Regions from separate parts of the Homo sapiens genome. Here region 1 is linked to region 2. The links are contacts of gene promoters, found by promoter capture Hi-C in blood cells and fetal thymus (Javierre and others, 2016). All regions are on one chromosome and are shown on one strand. Each heading gives the region's core, a stretch centred on a gene start or on the middle of the fragment in contact. The rest is flanking DNA. Distances are from core to core; before and after follow the strand shown. Region 1 overlaps ITPRID2 (ITPR interacting domain containing 2). Region 2 holds the start of ITGA4 (integrin subunit alpha 4).

The links. Contacts are between HindIII fragments. The CHiCAGO score rates a contact against its expected background, and 5 or more counts as called.
Region 1: a fragment that was not itself captured here is called in contact with the fragment with the promoter of ITGA4 in region 2 in 2 of 17 cell types (fetal thymus and neutrophils); the score reaches 6.7 in fetal thymus.

The regions. Positions count from the first base shown.
Region 1 is chr2:181,927,228-181,933,047 of GRCh38, forward strand. ITPRID2 (ITPR interacting domain containing 2) reads left to right here. Exons shown (of 18, transcript NM_001130445.3): 17 at 934-1,051; 18 at 2,334-3,511. The coding sequence ends at 1,038. Among named protein-coding and RNA genes, the nearest start is that of ITPRID2, 38 kb to the left of the region's middle. RefSeq lists silencers at 4,901-5,101, 5,141-5,341. The HindIII fragment of the contact is 1,969 bases long and covers 306-2,274 here.
Region 2 is chr2:181,456,112-181,462,084 of GRCh38, forward strand. ITGA4 (integrin subunit alpha 4) reads left to right here and starts at 1,275. Exons shown (of 28, transcript NM_000885.6): 1 at 1,275-1,740; 2 at 2,085-2,206. The coding sequence starts at 1,544. RefSeq lists enhancers at 782-891, 1,612-1,801, 1,862-1,911, 2,272-2,321, 5,099-5,148 and a silencer at 1,072-1,461. The HindIII fragment of the contact is 9,740 bases long and covers 1-5,973 here.

The sequences.
Region 1 (5,820 bases), core at 40-2,539, 470 kb after region 2:
AATTTGGCTGACAGGAAACTGGAAATGTAGAATTTTTAAAAGCTTGTTGAGAGTATCTTGAGTGCTTATTTGGGAACACATTATCACTTTATTTCAGGAAATACACATTTATAGCTTTCACAAAGGGCTATTTAAAAGTGATGCTGTATCATTAGAGAGAAAAGGTGGAGATAGGCATATGTAAGTGTTTGGACACCTGTAGAAGAAAATCCTGATGGAATTGTCATTTCCTCAGGTCTGTTTGCCTTTTCCAACAATAAAATGAGATGTATATCCTCATATCCTATATGCATATTGGAAACAAAAGCTTAGATGGCTGGCAGTGATACCATGCAACTAAAGAAAAAGTTATTTCTTTAGAGTTTATGGTTGTTTTGAGGATGTTTTTTATATTATAAAATAAATTGTACTAAATGATAATTTCTTCTTCCCATTTTAAATGTGTTAGGTTGAACAATATGTCTTTAGATACCTTGCTGTCAGTTGGCATAAACAGGCAGTATACCTGTATACTATTTTGCCTCTAAAAGATTTTCTCAGCAATGAGAGCACTTGTGTCTCTGCTGATTACCTTACAAAGTTAGACAATACTAAAAACATTTAAGAAGTCCTTCCAGATTATTTTTTTGACATGAGGTAAAGTATTTACTAGAAGTTTTTTAACTTATGAAATAACATTTTCTAATGTCCTCACCTTATGAATTGTGATATTTGTAATCTAGTTAGCTGAACAATTCTAGACCAGTCCTTGGGAGTCTGATCTGGGTTGGATGATAGATGGACTCGATTCCCCACTCCCTCTCTGTATTGCAGGGAGATTCACATGAAGGTGAAATTAAGAAATTGAATGCTATTTGTATTTTTTCCAAAAACAGGAAAAAATGAATTCCATTCATATTGGTAAATTTTTGTTTTATTGTTTTTCCAATCTAGATTAAAGAGTCTATTGTTGGGGAAATCAGACGGGAAATTGTAAGTGGACTTTTGGCAGCAGTATCTTCAAGTAAAGCGTCTAATTCTAAGCAAGATTATCATTAAACAGAAATTATAGGTAAATTTTTCTGAGTTTCTTTGTTGAGCTAAATGTAAATAGTAACTGGCATTTTATTCTTTGTTTTGTTAGTATACAGGTTTGGTTCTCTAGTTAAATTTTGAGTTTTAGAATGTATGTAATATGTTATTTTACAATGTGAAAATTTCACACAAGCCTATTTGAAGTGTAAGTCAAATCCCATAATACAAATCTCCAAGGAATTACTTATATTGGGTCATTCTACTGAAATTTCATTATAGTAATAAATCCTGGAATTGGACCTTCAAACCTGAATCTTATTTTGATTATAATGGTATTTCAGATGTATAGTTTTAAAGAACAAGATTTTGTGAATTAATCACAACTTCCTTTTTTTTTTTTTTGAGACAGAGTCTCGCTCTGTCGCCCAGGCTGGAGTGCAGTGGCGGGATCTCGGCTCACTGCAAGCTCCGCCTCCCGGGTTCACGCCATTCTCCTGCCTCAGCCTCCCAAGTAGCTGGGACTACAGGCGCCAGCCACTACGCCCGGCTAATTTTTTGTATTTTTTAGTAGAGACGGGGTTTCACCGTTTTAGCCGGGATGGTCTCGATCTCCTGACCTCGTGATCCGCCCGCCTCGGCCTCCCAAAGTGCTGGGATTACAGGCGTGAGCCACCGCGCCCGGCCGAATTAATCACAACTTCTAAGTATCTTTCCTAATTATTTTTATCTTTTAAAGAAACATATCCCATAGATTCATTTCTAATAATAATTTATTTCAAAAAACTCTTTTATATGTCTGTCTTAGTAAAACGAATTACTTTCATTTTATCTCGTAGCTCTAATTACATTAAAAAATTTTTTTGTAGAGATGGGGTCTTGCTATGTTGCCCACGCTAGTCTTAAACTCCTAGCCTCAAGCGATCCTCCTGCTTTAGCTCTAACTTCATTTTATATAATATATATTAATAATAATTCTTGGTGAATGCAAAAAGAAAGAATAAGTTGAGTAGAATAGAACTAAAAATATTCATTGAATAAGACATGAGAAACAAATGTAATTTGAAAAGTATAATATACAATTTCAGATATAGGAAATTGGAAAGTATTTTAATAAATTATGTCACAAAGCAATTAATAGGAATTATTTTTTTTAAAGCCAGGGATATAAGAATTAACTCTCAGGAAGATGTATAGAGATTACAGGATAATCATGTTTCTGTGTATATATATTTGCATAAAATTCTCATCTTCCTTTAAAGAAGCTTTTAATAACAGTATTTGAAAGAGGTTTAAAACTGACTTCTCTTTTCTTTTTTAAGGTTGGCATGGATCCTATTAGCTGTGTAATACTGGAATTATCAATGATATGCACTGGTGGAGGTGTTATTTGTGCTTTAGAAGATACTTGCTGTTGAGCTGGGCTACTGTATACAGTGTACAATGTGTATTTCTTCAACCATATATTTTAAAAAGACGTACATAGAAACTTAGGCACTTTGCTATTTCTTTTCTAAACTATCAAAAACTCTAGCAGTTTGAAAAGCCTAATATTTATTTGTATGTCAGTATTTTTCATTTGATTCCCTATTAGAATTAATTTTAAAACTTGAAGACTTCCAGACTTATCCAACTTATAAATAACATATTTCTTCAGACTAACATCTTAAAACACTGACCTCTATGAGGTATTTACTGTGCAATAACTGATTCATTTTTTTCAGAGCTTGAAGCATCCAATGATTTTTCCCTCCACTGCTGTTAATTAATGTCACTTCCAAGAAGAAAAACTGTTCTGTTGTAAAAAATATAATTGCTCTTAATTCTTGGGGAGGTTACTAATAGCAGTAGGATAGAATTTTATGAGGTTACCTACAACTACTTAATGTACTTACACTGTAAGCCTTGTTGCTTTACCCAAGACAAATGTAATTTTATCATTGCTTATGTAGTATTTTTCTTTTGGAAATGTGCCTTATGTTAAACACTATGTACTTTTACTTTTTGCATTGTCCAGACTTCTTTATTAGATGGAGATGTTTCTTTTTCTGTCTTCTAGACTAAATAGAGTATCATCCAAATAATGGGGCCTATGACTTGAATGAATAGAAATGAATAAGCTGGTGTTTGTTTTTTCAAAATGGAAGTAATTTAGATTTGTTCTCCTCATACATAAAATGATTTTAGTTCAGTTTTAACCAGTGAAAACTTTGTTTTTATGAAAAAAAAGGAAAATGGTTTCCCATTTGGTTTTATATGTGTTAAATAAATGTGTAAAGTAACCACCAAATGTTATTAGAATTTTTCTTCTAGCATTTATAATTTTTTCAACTCCTATTGTGTTTCTTTGTGTGTGATATTTTAATCAAAAGTGGTTGAGTTGTTAACAGTGTTCTTTGAAAGAATCTCTAAAAGGCTTATAAATGTTTGAAATATCACACAAAGGCTGATTTCTAAAATATATATATATTAAAACAATAAAGTATTTATTTTGCCTAAAGTGTTTTAGTGGTTTCTTAAACTGCAACATGAAGATTTTGAATTAGATTTGATAGGTAACAAATGAGGTCCAAAAGAATTGCAGCATATAACCCAATAGAGTGATACTCTCTTTTCCTAGGGAAGTGTTATGATACTTTAAAAAAACAATGCTTTAAAAAATGCTGTTTAAGACTAGACCACCCTGGAGAGAGGGCATGATTGAGGCCTCTTTGGCTTATCTAGTTCTGTGGTCATGATAATTACCATCAGAGGTCAAATAAAACTTCTCTTTAAAAATAAGCTATTAAACTACAAACAATAGATATTAAAATACTATTTAACTCTTTGTTCAATAACAGCAGTAATAACACCTATCAACCAAATGCCCCAATTTTTTTTTTATACTTTAAGTTTTAGGGTACATGTGCACAACATGCAGGTTTGTTACGTATGTATACATGTGCCATGTTGGTGTGCTGCATGCAGTAACTCGTCATTTAACATTAGGTATGTCTCCTAATGCTATCCCTCCCCCCTTCCCCCACCCCACAACAGGCCCTGGTGTGTGATGTTCCCCTTCCTGTGTCCATGTGTTCTCATTGTTCAATTCCCATCTATGAGTGAGAACATGCAGTGTTTGGTTTTTTGTCCTTGCAGTAGTTTGCTGAGAATGATGGTTTCCAGCTTCATTCATGTCCCCACAAAGGACATGAACTCATCATTTTTTATGGCTGCATAGTATTCCATGGTGTATATGTGCCACATTTTCTTAATCCAGTCTATCATTGTTGGACATTTGGGTTGGTTCCAAGTCTTTGCTATTGTGAATAGTGCTACAATAAACATACGTGTGCATGTGTCTTTATAGCAGCATGATTTATAATCCTTTGGGTATATACCCAGTAATGGGATGGCTGGGTCAAATGGTATTTCTAGTTCTAGATCCTTGAGGAATCGCCACACTGACTTCCACAATGGTTGAACTAGTTTACAATCCCACCCCTAAATGCCCCATATTAATAGAAATATAGTAATCAACGATTTTAACTATTTAGTTTTGAAGTCACTTTTAGTTAATTTTTGACAACACAAGATACCCAGATTTTGATAATCAAAATTAGAAATATAACAGTTGCAATAATAGGCTGAGACAATCAGCAAATTACCTACATAGTATATGAATCAAATAAGAGGAGTCTCAACAACTATCAGAGTTTTATGTTCCTTCTCCCCACTTTATTGTGTACTTAACATTTGAAAGCTATCAAGTTCAAGCCACCGTGCTAGCTGCTATGTGGAAATGAAAAATGAAAGGGTCAAAAAAAAGACAAAGTCAAGGCATCTTTTAATTTATGGATACGTTTAGAAGTGTCAATGAATAACTAAAATAATTTGAGAGACTATAGCCTGGGGTGGTCAGAGAAGCCTACCAAGGAGATGAGATTTGAGTAAAGTCTTAAAAGTAGTCAAGAACATTAGCAAAAGTTATCAAGAATACATAGAGTTTGAATTACCATGTACATGATCAAAGCAATACTTTTTAAATGCCAGGTTCATTGTGTGTATTGTGCTAAGAGCTTGCACAAAGCATAGAAGAGAAAGAAACTTGAAATGGTGATTTTGATGTTTGGAGTTGCTATGAATGATATACCATGAGAAAAACAGGCAGATTTTGAAGTACATTTCAGATTTGAAGTACATTTGAAAAATTCTCAGATTTGAAGTACATTTCTTTCCTCTAAATATATTCAGTTGAATTTCATACATTTAAAAGTACCGAATATTTGCTCAGCTGGCCATCTTCAACCTTTTCAGAGGAACATAAGAATGCAGTAAAGTGTATATAAAAGAATGTAAAGAGAACGTAAGTTTGGGCAGTTTCTGGAGAATTGCTGCATTGCCCATGTTCTTCACCTGTACAAATGGGAGTGTGGTCTTAGGGAAGGAATTAAGCAAAACTGAAGTGTATGTTCTTCTAGAATTTTTCCTCTCCTGGAAAGAAGGAAATTATAGCACTCCTAGGAAGTGGGAAGAGGAAACATCCTATCACCTTTTAATTGAAGCTGAGGGTCTACACTTTTAAGCATCACTTAGAGTTACTTATGAATATTGGAAACATTTAATTAGCACTTATTCTAATTGCATTCTAAATGTATAAAGTTAAAATGTCATAACTAATAGTTCCTCTCCTATACAGTTTCTTCTATGTATTGCTATTGAATGAGGCCTTTTCCTTTTTGTTCTCATTTCCACAACTGATGTTCCATTAGTCATATTGAGTAAATAACAGTTTATATACAGTGTCAGTGTAATAAATAATACTGTCAC
Region 2 (5,973 bases), core at 25-2,524:
TTTAAGTGTCCTTACCTGGATCTTTCTCTAGTTAGTACAAATTTTTCTATCTACCATTGGAGCGAACATTTTTTGAAACTTTGTATCAGTCCTGCCTTACTCTTGGTGGAATCCTGTGGTCCTAGTCAAGTGCCTGCTCCATGAATGTGCTGAATAAATGAATAAGCATTTTAATTGTGTATCTGTCATTAGTGTCAGATGTGTTATTTATTCCAGCATGGTTTTAGCACACAGACACACTCTTTGATGCAGACTTTTCTTTTCTTTTTACATATAGCAACAATAAAAAACTAGACTTTCATCTCCTGAAAATATCAGTCTAATAATCACCTATGGCTGTCTCTCTGGTTGCTGAAGGAAAAAAAAAAAAAAGGCAGGGCACACCTGGATTGCATTAGAATGAGACTCACTACCCAGTTCAGGTGTGTTGCGTTGTGGGTCTCCGGCACATTTCAGAGGCTCATTAGGACCCTGACCCCACACTGGGGTTTACACCCCTAAAAGCAGGTGTGTCCCGTGGCAACTGAGTGGGTGCGTGAAAAGGGGGGATCATCAATTACCAGCTGGAGCAATCCGAATCGGTTAAAGTGAATCAAGTCACAGTGCTTCCTTAACCCAACCTCTCTGTTGGGGTCAGCCACAGCCTAAACCGCCTGCCGTTCAGCCTGAGAGGCTGCTGCTAGCCTGCTCACGCATGCAGCCCGGGCTGCAGAGGAAGTGTGGGGAGGAAGGAAGTGGGTATAGAAGGGTGCTGAGATGTGGGTCTTGAAGAGAATAGCCATAACGTCTTTGTCACTAAAATGTTCCCCAGGGGCCTTCGGCGAGTCTTTTTGTTTGGTTTTTTGTTTTTAATCTGTGGCTCTTGATAATTTATCTAGTGGTTGCCTACACCTGAAAAACAAGACACAGTGTTTAACTATCAACGAAAGAACTGGACGGCTCCCCGCCGCAGTCCCACTCCCCGAGTTTGTGGCTGGCATTTGGGCCACGCCGGGCTGGGCGGTCACAGCGAGGGGCGCGCAGTTTGGGGTCACACAGCTCCGCTTCTAGGCCCCAACCACCGTTAAAAGGGGAAGCCCGTGCCCCATCAGGTCCGCTCTTGCTGAGCCCAGAGCCATCCCGCGCTCTGCGGGCTGGGAGGCCCGGGCCAGGACGCGAGTCCTGCGCAGCCGAGGTTCCCCAGCGCCCCCTGCAGCCGCGCGTAGGCAGAGACGGAGCCCGGCCCTGCGCCTCCGCACCACGCCCGGGACCCCACCCAGCGGCCCGTACCCGGAGAAGCAGCGCGAGCACCCGAAGCTCCCGGCTGGCGGCAGAAACCGGGAGTGGGGCCGGGCGAGTGCGCGGCATCCCAGGCCGGCCCGAACGCTCCGCCCGCGGTGGGCCGACTTCCCCTCCTCTTCCCTCTCTCCTTCCTTTAGCCCGCTGGCGCCGGACACGCTGCGCCTCATCTCTTGGGGCGTTCTTCCCCGTTGGCCAACCGTCGCATCCCGTGCAACTTTGGGGTAGTGGCCGTTTAGTGTTGAATGTTCCCCACCGAGAGCGCATGGCTTGGGAAGCGAGGCGCGAACCCGGCCCCCGAAGGGCCGCCGTCCGGGAGACGGTGATGCTGTTGCTGTGCCTGGGGGTCCCGACCGGCCGCCCCTACAACGTGGACACTGAGAGCGCGCTGCTTTACCAGGGCCCCCACAACACGCTGTTCGGCTACTCGGTCGTGCTGCACAGCCACGGGGCGAACCGATGGTGAGTAGAGTTGGACTGATGCGCCCTCAGCAGCTCAGAGCGGCGTGAGAATGGCGCCCTAGGGATTCCCTGCCCGATTCAAACTTTCCTCCCTCCCAAGGAGGCAGGAGGGAAACGCTGCGAGAGCCAGCTCGCTGGAAATCTGCCAGGGAAACTAACTTATCTTGGGGCGGCAGCGCCCCGGGTGCGTTATGGTGCAAGGTCTTGGAGCTTCGAGTCGGGGGTGGTGGGCGGAGGAGGAGGTGGGGAAGCTGCCCTGCTGCGGACTGCACATCTGTGGCGACAGGGAGCTCAGTGGGCAGCACAGCTCACGTCTGAGCGCACGTGCACGTGTCTCGCTTTAGGCTCCTAGTGGGTGCGCCCACTGCCAACTGGCTCGCCAACGCTTCAGTGATCAATCCCGGGGCGATTTACAGATGCAGGATCGGAAAGAATCCCGGCCAGACGTGCGAACAGCTCCAGCTGGGTGAGTTGGGTATGGGACCAGGAGTTAGTGACCTCCCGACCCCCCATGTGGACCCCACCATAGGGCAAGTCCTGGAAAGATTCACGTTGCCTGTTACTTCTGGTTTAAAGAGCATAAAGTTTTCAGTTTCAACTCCATCTCATCTTGCCTCCTTAATATAAAAGGGATTCCCTTTCTGTTAATATCGTTCTCCCTTTTCCTTATGGCAATGATTGCAGTACTCTGACAACTATGCTAGAGAAATTTCTTATGATACCTTCTCTTCATCTCTCCCCGTCTCTCCGTGTGTAAAGCACATTTTAGACTCTCTCAGCGTATTAAGGACAGGATCCAGCTAAGCCAAGACTTGAGAATTTTATTTCCATCTTTGACCTATCAACCCTCTTAAAGAACAGGCTAAGGAGCATATCAGGAATAGCAATTGGAATTGATCCCATATCCCGTCGTTTAACCTAAAGGCCTAAAAAAAAAAGTGATAGTTTTACTTACAATATACAATCTAAAAGAAAAGGAAAATTGGCATCTTCATCGTTAATGTAGTATAATTTTCCATTCCCAAAACCGTCATCCAAAACTCATGTTATATGGGTCCATCTTTTTGCAGTCATTTCTCAATGTCTCAGATTTGTGACAAGTTGAAAAATGTGTACTGATAGAGGGGAGAAGTTTCATGTTTCAAAGCCAAAGACAAGTTTGTTGCACACAGGCAAGTGGGGAAAGAGGAAGGAATATTAAATAACAAGACCTATCTTGTTCCAAAGTGTTACTGCTATATATATTGCTTAACTTTTTTCCCCTTAAAGCAACCCTGGGTCATGGTTGACATTGTTCCTAGTTTATGTATGAGGACTGTGGCTCAGAGTTGCAAATACCTTTTTAAAAGTTACTTAGCTAGTGACTGATAGGTGGGAACTAAAGTCAAACTAGGGTCTGAATGCGTCCAAAGTCTAAGCCATTTTCTTCCATGTATGTATCTTCAATGCAAATAAAATTAAGTGAATGGTTTAATATGTTGTCTGCTGAGCTGATGGGTCATCTGTAAACGGTGAATAAAATTGGTACTTCTTTATATTTCTTTGCTATAAATGGACTTTTGAGATTAGTTATTGGATCTTTAACTTCTTTTGTATTTTATAGTAGTCTTTGCTCTTTTTCAAACTGTGAAGCTGGTTCCCTTCATTCAGATGAATTCAGATAGAGTATAAACATAATGGAATTTTTACTTTTAACTCAGAGCACCTATAAAAGTCTACGAGTTGTCTGTAGCATGTAGAATAAGCCCTAGCCTCTTGTTAAGCATCCTCAATACCAGAAATCACAGTAGGAATGCATAAAACATTCACAGACCCATACATTTTGGAATGATTTTGCAAAGCATAATTTTCATTGCATGAGAGAGTTGTGGGTGAAGAATTAGGGAGTGGAGCCGACAACTTTGGTCTGCCAGAGGATCTTGGCAAGGTCTCAGGAGGGAGCAATTTTATTTCTGTTGTCCTGTCATAGTTTCCTGATCCATGACATTATAACTACTGATATTTAGTGCCTACTTCCTGTCTGGATGGACACTGAATCTATTTCTGGATGTCTGTGTTTAACTGGATAAATCATGACATAATACTGTATTAAATTTAAGATAATGCCTGTCAATGGAAGGAAAAAATTGTTTGGGCATGTGTAGCATGGGAGTTGACTGTTCTCAGAGAAATGTAAACATAGTAGATATGTCATAGATATGAATTAAATGAAGATCTTTTGGATGGATGAATGAATAAAAGTGGAGTGAAAATTTATCAACCTGACTGATGAGTAAGATAATTGATTAGAAATGATGAGCCAAACTGATTTTTAACTTTCAAAATTTTGGCCAATCTACAAGGTATTTACTGGGATGAAAGGAAAAAAGGCAAGATTCCTAGTCAGTCAATGAGTTAAAACATTAATAGTGATAGTAATGCCTTGAGTATTTGCCGAAGAGTTGACTGAAGTTATTTCTCATGTAACATTCTAAAGAATACAGATATCTTTTATTCCTCATGTAAAGAAACTGCCTCTCTATTCAGAATAAATTCAGTGGTAGCTTGAAGCTATAAAATAGGGATTGAGGCTACAGTCTAGAAATAAAACACTAAAAACAATACATTGGTAATAAAGATAATTTAGGATTCTTAGGTTTGTGGGCTATGCACTATTTTGTATGAAGAAGTTTCAAGAGTGTGTGTAAATATATATAAGCCATCTTCTGTAGAAGAGTGTGTGTGTGTGTGTGTGTGTGTGTGTGTGTGTGTGAATCTTCTGTATAAAATAGCTTCAGTTGTCCTGTTTCAAATGTGGGTGACTCTAATGTTTCAAAAATGCTTAGCTCAGTACTGACACATAATACATTCAAAAAATAGTGGTTCTTCTTTATTGTTTACTTAAATCTATTATCTGTATGTTATCTGTAACAAGCAGGCTGAGGTTAATAGGGACAATTGATAAACTGAACCAAAAGTTTAAAAATTAAAAGGTAATACATTAAAAGGTAGAAGTTGAAATGAAACACAATGAGAAATTTTTGTTGGCTGAAGAAAAAAATGTTATAATGATTAAAGATCGATCTGTGATTGCCATGTCAGTAAGGTATCTTCTTTCCTTTGGAATAGCTTTACTTGCTATCAAGAACCTGAAGGTGTAGGGTCTTCAAATGGTGCCCATCTCCCACACAATTAAAAATATCCACATGGACTAGTCTTTGAGTCTCTGTAGAATTTCAGATCAGTGGTTGATTCAGATAGACTCCTCCCCTCAAAAGAGAAGGTCCATATCTCGCCTACCCTACCCTCTGTGGACAAGGTGTCCCATATGGTATATTCATGCCATAAGCAGAAGTGAGCCTGCCTGTTTATCTAGAATGCCCAGGGTGAGAGACGTTAGGCATGAGATACCCCTTTTAGTCAAGCAAGTTGACTGCAGAGCCAGCACCAAGAGAGTTGCCTGGATAGTACCGCAAGGTGCTTTTCTTCCTGCATATATATTGTTGGCCTCCTTTTACCTCCCTGACTCCCCAAGAGACATCTCTTCTCTCACTTCTTTTGTACCAGAGGAAAGTGGTCTCTCTGCCAGGAGGGTCTGGGCCCAGACTTGCTCGTGAAGACTATATCTGAGGAGACCCAGGTGATTTCTACATGTCCACTTTCCACCCGGGCACTCTGCATCATCAGGCTTGTTTAAAGGAAACTTTAATCACAGCTGGTTCCTAAATTAAGGTGTCACAAATAATGACTCAATTAATATAGTTAAGCATAGTCCATCCATGGACTATCAATATTCAAATAGAACATAATAAAACATAGAAATGATTATCAAATTACACTAAAAAGATGGTCTTTATTTGGTTATTCAAATATGTTTCCAGATCTTTCATTACTTTGGAGTTACCACTGAAAGCATTATACACACACTAACTCTCATTTGGGTAATAGTCTAAAGTTATACAATTACACTATCCAGTATAGTATCCACTAACCACAGGTGGCTTTGAACACATAAAATGTGGCTAGTCAGCGATGAGAGGGCTGTAATGTAAATTACATACTGGCTTTTGAATACTTAGTATAAGAAAACTCATTAATTTTTATGATATATATTGAAACAAACACTTTAAAATTATTGATTACATAATATTTTGGATTTATTAGGCGAAATAAAATTTTAGGTTAAATAAAATTAATTTTATTTTTACTTTTTTCATGTGGCTATTATAAAATTTAAAATTTCCAATGGGCTTG